Regions from separate parts of the Homo sapiens genome. Here region 2 is linked to region 1. The links are contacts of gene promoters, found by promoter capture Hi-C in blood cells and fetal thymus (Javierre and others, 2016). All regions are on one chromosome and are shown on one strand. Each heading gives the region's core, a stretch centred on a gene start or on the middle of the fragment in contact. The rest is flanking DNA. Distances are from core to core; before and after follow the strand shown.

Evidence for each region. Contacts are between HindIII fragments. The CHiCAGO score rates a contact against its expected background, and 5 or more counts as called.
Region 2: a fragment that was not itself captured here is called in contact with the fragment with the promoter of DNAJC21 in region 1 in 1 of 17 cell types (neutrophils); the score reaches 5.3 in neutrophils.

The regions. Positions count from the first base shown.
Region 1 is chr5:34,927,737-34,933,209 of GRCh38, forward strand. DNAJC21 (DnaJ heat shock protein family (Hsp40) member C21) reads left to right here and starts at 1,823. Exons shown (of 12, transcript NM_001012339.3): 1 at 1,823-2,180. The coding sequence starts at 2,084. It overlaps LOC124900961 (a long non-coding RNA gene), which reads right to left and starts at 1,945. Exons shown (of 2, transcript XR_007058731.1): 1 at 1,913-1,945; 2 at 1-1,397. RefSeq lists silencers at 1,499-1,968, 1,979-2,048, 2,079-2,278 and enhancers at 2,307-2,952, 2,419-2,588. The HindIII fragment of the contact is 5,598 bases long and covers 738-5,473 here.
Region 2 is chr5:40,767,985-40,773,147 of GRCh38, forward strand. It overlaps PRKAA1 (protein kinase AMP-activated catalytic subunit alpha 1), which reads right to left. Exons shown (of 9, transcript NM_006251.6): 4 at 3,735-3,879; 5 at 1,432-1,519. The region is part of intron 1 of LOC124900968 (a long non-coding RNA gene); the gene reads left to right. Among named protein-coding and RNA genes, the nearest start is that of TTC33, 15 kb to the left of the region's middle. The HindIII fragment of the contact is 5,154 bases long and covers 653-5,163 here.

The DNA of each region.
Region 1 (5,473 bases), core at 573-3,072:
GGCACCAGTTTAATAAAAGATGTTCCTTTATTTATTAGCGGCAGGGTCTTGCTCTGTCACCCAGGGCTGTAGTGTGGTGGTGTGGTCATAGCTCACTGCAGGCTCTAACTCCTGGGCTCAAGTATTCCTGCCTCAGCCTCCTGAGTAACTAGGACTACAGGCCCACGCCACCATGCCTGGCTTTTTTTTTTTTTTGTAGAGACAAGTTCTCGCTATGTTGCCCAGGCTCGTCTTGAACTCTTGGGCTGAAGGGATCCTCCTGCCTCGGCTTCCCAAAGTGCTGGGATTACAGGCATGAGCCACCACGCCTGGTCAAGATGTTCCTTTAGACTGAAATTTATATCCAGCATAGTTACCTTTAATTATACAATGTTACAGGCAAAAATCCTTCTTACTTCAGAAGGTAAAAGAAGTAAGTGATTCCTACAGGCTGTATCCAAAACCAAATCAAGTTGGAGGGAGAAAATACTCCAAATTAAGTTGGAGGGAAAAAAATACTTTCCCTTTCCGTTTTTTTTTTTTTTTTTGTCCCTCCCTTCCCCCCGCCCACCATCCCAATTCTGTTCTCAGGAGGGGAAAGGTTTCATTCTCCCCCAAACTCAGACTTCTCAATCCTTATCCATTACCAATTTACCAACTAACTGAGACTGTGTAGAATCTTCCTCTGGAAAAAAGGGAAGTGTATGAATTCTGAGTAGTGAGTTGGTTGGTCAGTGGCGTGTGAAGTAACCTGATGAAGCTTAGCGTGGGTTTTTTATTTTACTGGGGGCAGCATATTGGGGAAGAGAAGGATAACCTTACTAAACCGCTTGGGTACGCCAACCCTGTGCAATAGATATTAGCAACATAGCTAACCATACATGGTTAGTAAATACAACCCACACCTAACTGATGCATGTAAACATTCCACATTACAGTGAAATATATTGGTGTATTAATGCATTTTAATAATTATGGTATTATTTTGATACCTTTCAAAGTGTTTGGAATAATTGTGCAGATAGTCAGATCAACCAAAACCTACCAGTTAAATACTATCCTTTAACTGCTTTCTTAACCTAAACCAATCTTGGAAAGGTAGGATTAGAGGCCAGAAAGTTAGGATTAAAGTGTGTTGGATGGATAGATCAGCACAATTTCATCCATGTTGGTGGTAAGGCTTTTCATTAAGTGTGTTGATGCTTCCCTTTTAAATTGTTTCCGCTTAAATAATCTAACTGTCCTTTCTCAAGCATATTGGTCAAGATGATCAATACCAGATATCTTAAGTGGCAGCTGAAGAGAATTAAAGAGATTAAAAAAAAAACCTGATATTCAGTCCAACCGAATTCTGCTACTGTATTAGCTGAGGAGGCTTGAGCCAACCACTTGACCACTTGGAGTCTGAATCGCCTTATCTATAAAAACGGGGATCCATTGAGAAATTATAATCAGATATTTTCCAGAATCCTCTCCCATCCCAGCTCCTATCTCCCCCTTCAGCCCTCAGGTCGGCTGCCACTCACACTGACCGCCATCTGTGCCCCTCACAATGACACCAGCGTGGCCCTGCCTCCCTTCCGCGCGGCCCCGCCTCTCGCCCCGCCGAGGCCCCGCCTCTCACACCAAGGTCCCGCCTTCCTCCTGTTCTTCCCGGCCAAGGCCTACCTTCCTCCCACGCGGCCCGCCTCTTTCCCCGCCAAGCTCCCGCCTTTCTCCTGCGCGGCCCGCCTCTCTCCTCGCCAAGGCCCCGCCTTCCTTCCTCGGGGCCTCGCCTCTCACCCCGCCGAGGCCCCACCCCCTCCCGCGCGGCCCTTTCCGGCACAGAGCCCACCCCTAGCCCATGCGAAGCGGCGGCCGCCGGCACCGCCCCCGCCGCGCTCCCGCTTGCCGCAGCCTGCGTCGTCTGCCGCCACCGCGCGCCTTCACTGACCTACACCACCGCCGCCGCCGCCGCCGCCGCCGGGCTCGCTGGCTGGCCCGGTGCGGGCGGCGGACTCCCGCCGGAGAGGACTGCCAGCGCCGCCGCCGCCGCCGCTTCGGCCCGGGCCCGGGCCCCGACCCCGTCCCGGGCCCCAGCGCCGGCCGCCCGCCCGGTCGGGCGATGAAGTGTCACTATGAGGCGCTGGGGGTGCGGCGCGACGCCAGCGAGGAGGAGCTCAAGAAGGCCTATCGGAAGCTGGCCCTGAAATGGCACCCGGGTAAGTACCTGTCCCGCAGCCCCCGCGGCCACTCGGAGAAGCCCGGCCCTCCCCGACCTTCCCTTCCCCCGGGCGGACTCCGCGGAGCCAGCAGAGAGGGACCTGGCGGCCTAGGAGCTCCTTGCCCCGCCCGGCCAGTGCCCGGAGCCGCCCTGCCCGTCTCGGTGGGCGAAGCGCTCTGCCCTGGCGCACCCCGGCTCACACCCCATCTCCTCATACCCGCGACCCCGGCCCCGCATCGCCACTGTAGGGGGAAAACTGCAGTCCAACAACCTCACTTGCTCCCGCTACCGGGTCGCAGACACCACGAGGGAGCAGTCGGGAACTCGGAACTCAGACCTGCCCCAGGCTTGCTTTTCCCTGCGTCCCTTGCAGCGCAGCCTCTCGGTGTTTTTCCTCCGCTGCCCTCCACCTCGTCCGGGAATCCCAGATACTTCAACCTGATGTATGGCTCTTTTCGTTTCTTAGTTAAGAAGTTAAGACACGGGAGCTAGTAAAATATCTTTTCAATAGGGATGCGCTTTTTTCGCTGTTTTTTTTTTCTTTTAATAAGCTGTTTAAGCAGACCTTGTACTTCACTTTGGACATGATTCTGCCGGGGAAGGTTTTAATCAGGCGGCTTCCCCAGTAAAGTTTGTATGTTTACTTAGAAGTATCCTTCCTTTGGATGTTTCATTGGTCTGTAATCCAGGCCTGTGTGACTTTTATGAAGTAATCTGATCTTCCAGGCTGGGAAACTAAGAGAGTAGTTGACTTTCAGCTTTTTGAGGTTCATATGAAGAGGCTTTCATATTAGCATTCATCAGTAAACACGGTTACAGAGTATCCAATATATGCAAGTCACTGCACTCTACTAAGTAGATTTGGAAATGCTGAGACAGGGGTCTTAGAGTCTTGTTAGGAAAACAACTTTCTGCCTTACACAAATGAAAAGTTAAATACAACTGCCAGAAAAAAATCGCAACATACATAATTGGTGGTTAGATTAATGGAACAACTAATATATGCTCCAGGAATTCAGGGAGGGAGTTACCATTTTGTATTGAGTCTTCCCCTTCTCAGAGGAGTTTGGACTGGATCGTAGAGGAATGCAATTTGGAAAAGTGAACTCAACAGTATGGAGGATAGCATGGTGGAGGACAAAAGATGTTCCGGGGGACAGTTTGACTGAAGGTGGTGTGTATTGCAGGTCTGAAAAATAGGGATTATGAGAGGAGTGGAAGGAAAGGTCAGGGACCCAAAGTCAAAAGGGAATGGCTATGGTGATGGAGTGAGAGATAGAGGTGTGGGTCTGTTACTTAAAGTTATGCTTACCAACAGAGGCGTGAAAAAATGTGATTATAAATATATTAGAAGAGCAGAAGTAAATGAACTGATGTTCATCATAGCAGTAAGTCAGAAGATACAGCCAAAATTAATAAATGTAAAAATAGTGTAGAAGTATATTCTTAGAGTTTGGGTTAGTGTAGAAGCATATTCTTAGGAGTTTGGGTTGTTACTGTTAGAAATCAAGTTAGGAATTAGAAGGAAGTTCGGAATTCCTTGACTTTCTAGGTGGGAAAGGGTAAATGAAGTAGCGAATGCTGTGACCAAAAGCGTATGTAATTTTCTGAAGAGTGATTTTAAATCAGATTGTATTTCTTGAGTACAAGAGTAGTTTGAAATCAGATTGTATTTCTTGTAATCTTGAATATTAGCCCAAGGACTGTGAAATTTGCTTCGCTAAATAAGGGAGAGTTGTGGCTGGTTTTATTAAGCTGCCATGGGAGAGTACTATGAAGGCAACTTAGTGGATTGAAGAGGGCTGGAGACAGAAGTTAGGGAGAGTCCGCAGTGGACAGACAGGTAAGGGCCCAAGCCAGGCTTGGGGTCAGCGGGAGGGGGAAAGCGCAAGGGGAGGAGATGTTGGGAAGGAAAAATGACCAGATTTGGTGATTAATTAGAAATCAGTGCTAGGAAGAAGCATGCAAATATGACTAAAGTATCAGTTAACTCCTTTGAAACCAAACCTGTTAGGAACTGAATGCAAATATCTTCTCTAAATATCATCATAATTTATGGCATCAGTGTGATGGTATCTGAGAATGGGCAGCAGGAAGCCCTGAAGAGCCATGTTCTAGGGCGGCAAAACTATTTGTAGATAAGACATTGCTGTCATGTTTTCTTGTAACTTCTTAGAAGGGAAGTATTGAGCTGTAGCTTAAAGAACTTTAGTGTGCTCCGGCCAGGTGCGGTGACTCACACCTGTAATCCCAGCACTTTGAGGGGCTGAGGTGGGCGGATCACCTGAGGTCAGGAGATGGAGACCATCCTGGCCAACATGGTGAAACCCTGTCTCTACTAAAAACACAAAAATTAGCTGGGCGTGGTGGCGCACGCCTGTGGTCCCAGCCACTTGGGAGGCTGAGGCAGGAGAATCGCTTGAACCCAGGAGGCAGAGGTTGCAGTGAGCCAAGATCGCGCCACTGCACTCCAGCCTGGTGACAGAGCGAGACTCCATCTCAAAAAAAAAAAAAAAAACGAACTTTAGTGTTCTCCATAGTCAATTCAAAATGCTTTACGTTCTGAATATATTAGTTGTCTATTGCTGTGTAACAAATTACCAATACCTCAGGGCTTAAGACAACAAACAACAAAAACAGCAAGCCTATGTTGACTATATGGACTCCCACAGTTTCTAAGGATGAGAATCTGGGAGCGGCTTTGCTAGGTGGTTTTGGCTTTCTCATTGTCTGAAAGAACCTGCTTCCAGCTCACCAACTCACCAGCTCACCAACCACCAACTCATGTGGTTGTGGCAGGCCTCAGTGCTCTGCCGGCTATTGGCCTCCTTCACCCCATGAGCTTCTCCAGCTTCTCCATAGGCAGCCTGAGTTGCTCATGCTATGGCAGCTGGCCACTCCCAGAGTGATCAAGAGAGAGGGAAAGCCCAAGGTAGAAACTGCAGTCTTTTATAACCTCATCTCGGAAGTGAGGTACCATTACTTCTGCCATCTCCTGTTGGTCACACAGACTACCCTTGCTGACACAGAAGGGACTGCACAAGGTGTGAATGCCAGGAGGCGGGGTGCTGTCTTGCAAGCTGGGTACCACCCTGAGGCAAGGACGCTTTCTGAATTCCATGGTTCAGGAAGCACAGCTAAGGAAATAATAACTAATTAGTGTATATTTTTTAAACTTTATGAGATTTCTTTTGATATACATTGATGAGAAAGAAAAAAACAATGTCAGCACTAAACATAATCTAGTACAAAATAAGTCTTTCTAGAACTGATTTTATTTATTTTACTCCT
Region 2 (5,163 bases), core at 1,980-4,479, 5.8 Mb after region 1:
CATTGGTTTTTGTTACAGAGGAGAGATTAAGTGATATTTCATCAACTGAGAATGTTCTTTAGTAATGGACTCTGAGCCCACAATCCCAATAACACAAGACCCCTTACACCAAGGTGAAAGGATCCTGAGGCTGTGAAAGAAAGCCAGGCAAATTGGTTCACAGAGTTTTTAAATCCCGTTTGCAGTGCATTGTAGTCAAGTGCCTTAACTAGCTGCAGACTAGTTAGATCACCCATTCAAAGCCTGGATTCAGGAAAAGGATTTCTTTAAATTTATGTACTGCTGAACTGATCGATAAATATTATTTTGAAAGTAAAAGTTCTCATACACCAAGAGCTTGAAGAAAGACTTTATCCAAACTAGAAAAATTAAATTTCAGTAATAGCCCATTGCATATATGCACAGTTATAACATTTCTTTTTATTTATTTAAATAACAACTTTCCACAGTCTCCATGTCCTGAATTGTTTTATTCCTAAAAGAATTAAGATAGACAACACCATTTTTTTAAAAATTTTTTAAATAATTTTTGACATTAAGTTAATATTTAAAAAAAAGATGAAACTTGACAAATCTAAAATTAGGTACTCCTGCCTTACTCACAGCCATATTTTTACACAAATCTCATTTCTTTGAGCAGTCTAGGCCAACAAGCTTATAAAAATAGAAAATACTACAGTATTTCTGCATTGAGTTAATCAAGATGCAAAACATTCACACAAATAAGCATGGTTTGGGTGAAAAGTTATTAAAAGTTCATTATAAATCTAGCAAACTTCAGCTTCTGTTTTCAATTTCAGTAGTATAGTGAAGGACAAAGAGTTATTCTTAAAAATATTAAATTCTCCTGTTTTCCAAACTATTCAAAAAGCGACACTGTACAAATATCTTCATGTTCTCAATGCTGGTAGTTAGTAAATTGAGAGGTTAAAATTCTTATAATATTGCAGTCTCTAAAAGGTTTAAAGAACAAAGATTCAACATAAATGAAGTCTAAAGATTACTTCAGCCCAGTTCCCCAAGACATTTTATCATGAAACATAAAGGTACTACAAAATGCCATCTATGTAAAAAATTAAAGCTACACATTACATGTTTAATTTTTCCTCTAAGTAAATAGTAATCCTTTTCTAACTACTAGATATTTCTGTATTATTCAAGTTTCCAGTGTCTTACCTACTTTTTAAACACCCTAGTTTTAAACTTTCCATTTCTTCCACCTGGGAAAAAAATTAATGTACTCTCTTCTAACAACTTTAATATAATGTTGACTTGTAGTCCTTAACCCTCATTCACATATAAATGTGGTTAAGAATAAGCCTTATCTTTCTTTCCTTTCATTAGAATTAAATATGACACTATAGACTAACAAAATCTAGGAGAAAAAGACAATTTCAAATGTATTGAGGGAGGCAGGGTATCAAATACTACCTTCCTGAAATTACTTCTGGTGCAGCATAGTTGGGTGAGCCACAACTTGTTCTTAAAAATTCACCATCTGACATCATGTTTGAAAGACCTGAAAGTGCACAAAATCAGCTACTCAAAAGATTTCCCAAAGACAAAAATTAAAATCCCATTAAACAATAAAATTGAGTTTGCATTAAAATGATAAATCATCATTTTGTTATTTGCTTCAACAAAATCCTATGGTCTATTGTAGCCAAATATTCTGCCATTATGCCCTAAAATGTGTAATCTATTTCAACATTTAAAGTTAGTGCACTGTTAGAGTTTAATACAAATATATTAAGCTGTTGGTTATTTTGCTTATTAGAAAAAACTTGCCATGTTTAAGTTTTATTAATACAGAAATCACTAGGGAAAATAATCTATAACAGATGAATAGAAGGATTAAAATTCAAAGTTCCTATTAAGCCTGTTCTGATTCTTTAAAAAAAAAAAAAAAAAAAAAAACAGTAATTTTGAATTTCAAAGTTCCCTCACAGTTTTACTCCAAAAAGAAACTGTTGCTCCCTCAAAAATGCACCCTATAAAAATAATCAACTGAGGAATAAGAAATTCAAATAATTTAGCCAATTACTATTTTAAAAAAAAACAAAACACCAAAACAACCAGCTCAGGTTTGGTTGGCATTTTCCAGTTAATCTCTGAACATTTAAATAGATATAGTTATAGATATAGATACATAGATGTAGTCAAAACTGAGGAAAATTTTTATAAGAATGTTCTCTGGGCCAGACATGGTGGCTCACGCCTGTAATCCCAGCACTTTGGGAGGCCAAGACAGGCGGATCACTTCAGCTCAGGAGTTCGAGTCCGGCCTGGCCAACATAGTGATTCCCCATCTCCACCAAAAATTAAAAAAAACATAGCTGCATGTGGTGGCCCACATCTGTGGTCCCAGCTACTTGGGAGGCCAAGGTGGGAGAATTACTTGAGCCTGGAAGGCAGAGGTTGCAGTGAGCCGAGATCGTACCACTCCAGCCTGGGTGACAGAGTGAAACTCTGTCTCAAAACAAAAAACAAACAAAAAAAAGTTATCTGATTTGAACTAAAACCAACCTAAAGAAAAGAAGAGATTCCTTTTTCTCTTAGGTTTAGTAAGGTCAATGGCAATTTATATAGGAAATACAGAAAAAATAAATTCTTTTTTTTTTTTTTTTTTTTTGAGACCGTGTCTCACTCCGTCGCCCAGGCCGGACAGGCGATCTCAACTCACTACAACCTCCACCTCCTGGGTTCCAGCAATTCTCCTGCCTCAGCCTCCAGGGTAGTGGGGACTATAGGCACGCACCACCATGCCCAGCTAATTTTGTATTTTTAGTAGAGATGGGTTTTCACCATGTTGGCCAGGCTGGGCTCGAACTCCTGACCTCAGGTGATCCGCCCGCCTCGGCCTCCCAAAATGCTGGGATTACAGGTATAAGCCACCACGCCCAGCCAAAATAAATTCATTTTTAACAATCAAAATGTTCTTTAAACAAATTATAATTTACTATCATTTAAAACATTTTTAAATTTTTAAATAAATTTTTTTAATTAAAAAATTGTTTTAAATAATTTTAAATAATTAAATTCACATAGTTCACTTCTGGTTTTTAAGGTTTTAAATAATTCCATCCCACTCACTTTCCTTCTTCTCCATACTTGATTCTTTTGAACATACTGGAAATAAAGCTGCTACCTTCTCTTTCACAAATAATACTCTTTTCAAATAGTCTCTCTAATACTACCAACTTAAGTTGTTTAAAATTTAATTTTAAAGATATTTAAAGAGCCAGGTGCAGTGGTGCACACCTGTAATCCCAATACTTTGGGAAGCTGTGGTAGGAAGATCACTTGAGGCCAGGAGTTCAAGAGCAGCCTGGACAACATAGTGAGAACTTGTCTCTACAAAAAGACAAAACAGCCTGGCATGGTAGTGCACGCCTGCAGTCCCAGCTACTCAGGAGGCTGAGGCAGGAGGGTCACCTGGCCCAGTAGTTTGGGGATGCAGTGAGCTATGATCACGTCGCTGCCCTCCAGCCTGGGCGACAAAGCGAAACCCTGCCTCTATAAAATAATAGTAATAAAGACATTTAAAGCTAAGAAAAGATGATTTCTTAGCTTTTCTTCTTTTTGTATCTTCATAGACAAAACAGAATACTTTGATATACTCAGTCTATTACTTTATGTAATCTTTTACAGTTATCTGAAGAATTCTAGGTAGGTTCATTGAAACTATAAGAACATTAGAAATGAACGTTAAGAAACTATAAAATTATCCTTACCAAAATCAGCTATCTTTGCATTCATGTGTGCATCAAGCAGGACATTTTCAGGTTTCAAATCTCTATGGACCACCATATGCCTGTGACAATAATCCACACCAGAAAGGATCTGTTGGAACAGACGCCGACTTTCTTTTTCATCCAGCTAAGAAAAGTTAGAGAGGCTTTTTAAAGGTGTGTCTTTCAAAGTAAATTGTCCTATCTATAATTCTCCAACCTATAAAATTGTCAAAATACATGAAAATCTTCCCAATGAACTTCACTTATGAGATACTTTTGACATGAGGAGGAGATACCTGCAGCACAAAACAGAAATGCTAAGATGGTCTTGGAACCCAAATCAGTAACTCAAGTTTCTAATATTATCATTTGCATATGACTACATTGTAACAGCTTGCCTTCCTCTATATCTCATGAGTTATTTCAAATAATTTCAATATCTACTTGAAATTTGGCATATTTCCTTTTATAAGCGGCAAATGTTTACTCTTTCATTCTTTTAACAAATTACTGAATACCTTCAACGTGCTACACATTGCTTTAGACACTCATTACACAGCAATGAATAAAACAAAGGCTAATCTAGTTGATGAAAATAGACTAATAAATATAGTCAGAAGGAGTGATACTGTTTTGAAGAAAAATAAAGCAAAATATAGGTGCAGTGAGTGATAGTGGGGTGAGGGACACTATTTTAGACCATGAGGAAGTAATATTTAAGCACTATTCATAAACCAGCAAGCAACTATGTTGCTATATGTCCTAAAATAGAAGACATTTTAACAACAAACACCTTAATTCATTTAATAAAATATCATAGCATTTTATCTTTAATATGCTTGCTAAAAAAAAAATCTTACATAGCAACTACCTTTTCATTTTTGTTTTTTGTGTTTTTTTGGGGGGGCGGGGTTTTAAATTTATCTATATTTTGAGATCCAGTCTCGTTCTGTCATCCAGGCTGGAGTGCAGTGATGCCATCACGGCTCACTGCAGCCTCGGCTTCCCTGGGGTCCCGCAATCCTCCCACCCCAGCCTCCTAAGTAGTTGGGACCACAGGCACATGCCACCACGCCCACTAATTTTTGTATTTCTGATAGAGACAGGACTTTGCCATGTTGCCCAGGCTGGTCTCGAACTCCTGAGCTCAGGCAATCTACCGCTTCAGCATCCCAAAGTGCTGAGATTACAGACATGTGCCACTGCATGCAGCCTGAAGTATTTTTTTTAAACTTCTCTATGTATCCATATATTATTACCACTTTTTTCAACATAAGTGACAGCCATTACTTGGACATGCCTGCTCCCAAGAAGTCATATTTAATAAATAAGCTATTAATCCTCTAGGCGAAGGACTCCAATATGCAATTCTCTAACACAGGTCACAAATTAGCATTCTAAAACCAGACTTACACCTTAAAGGGCATGG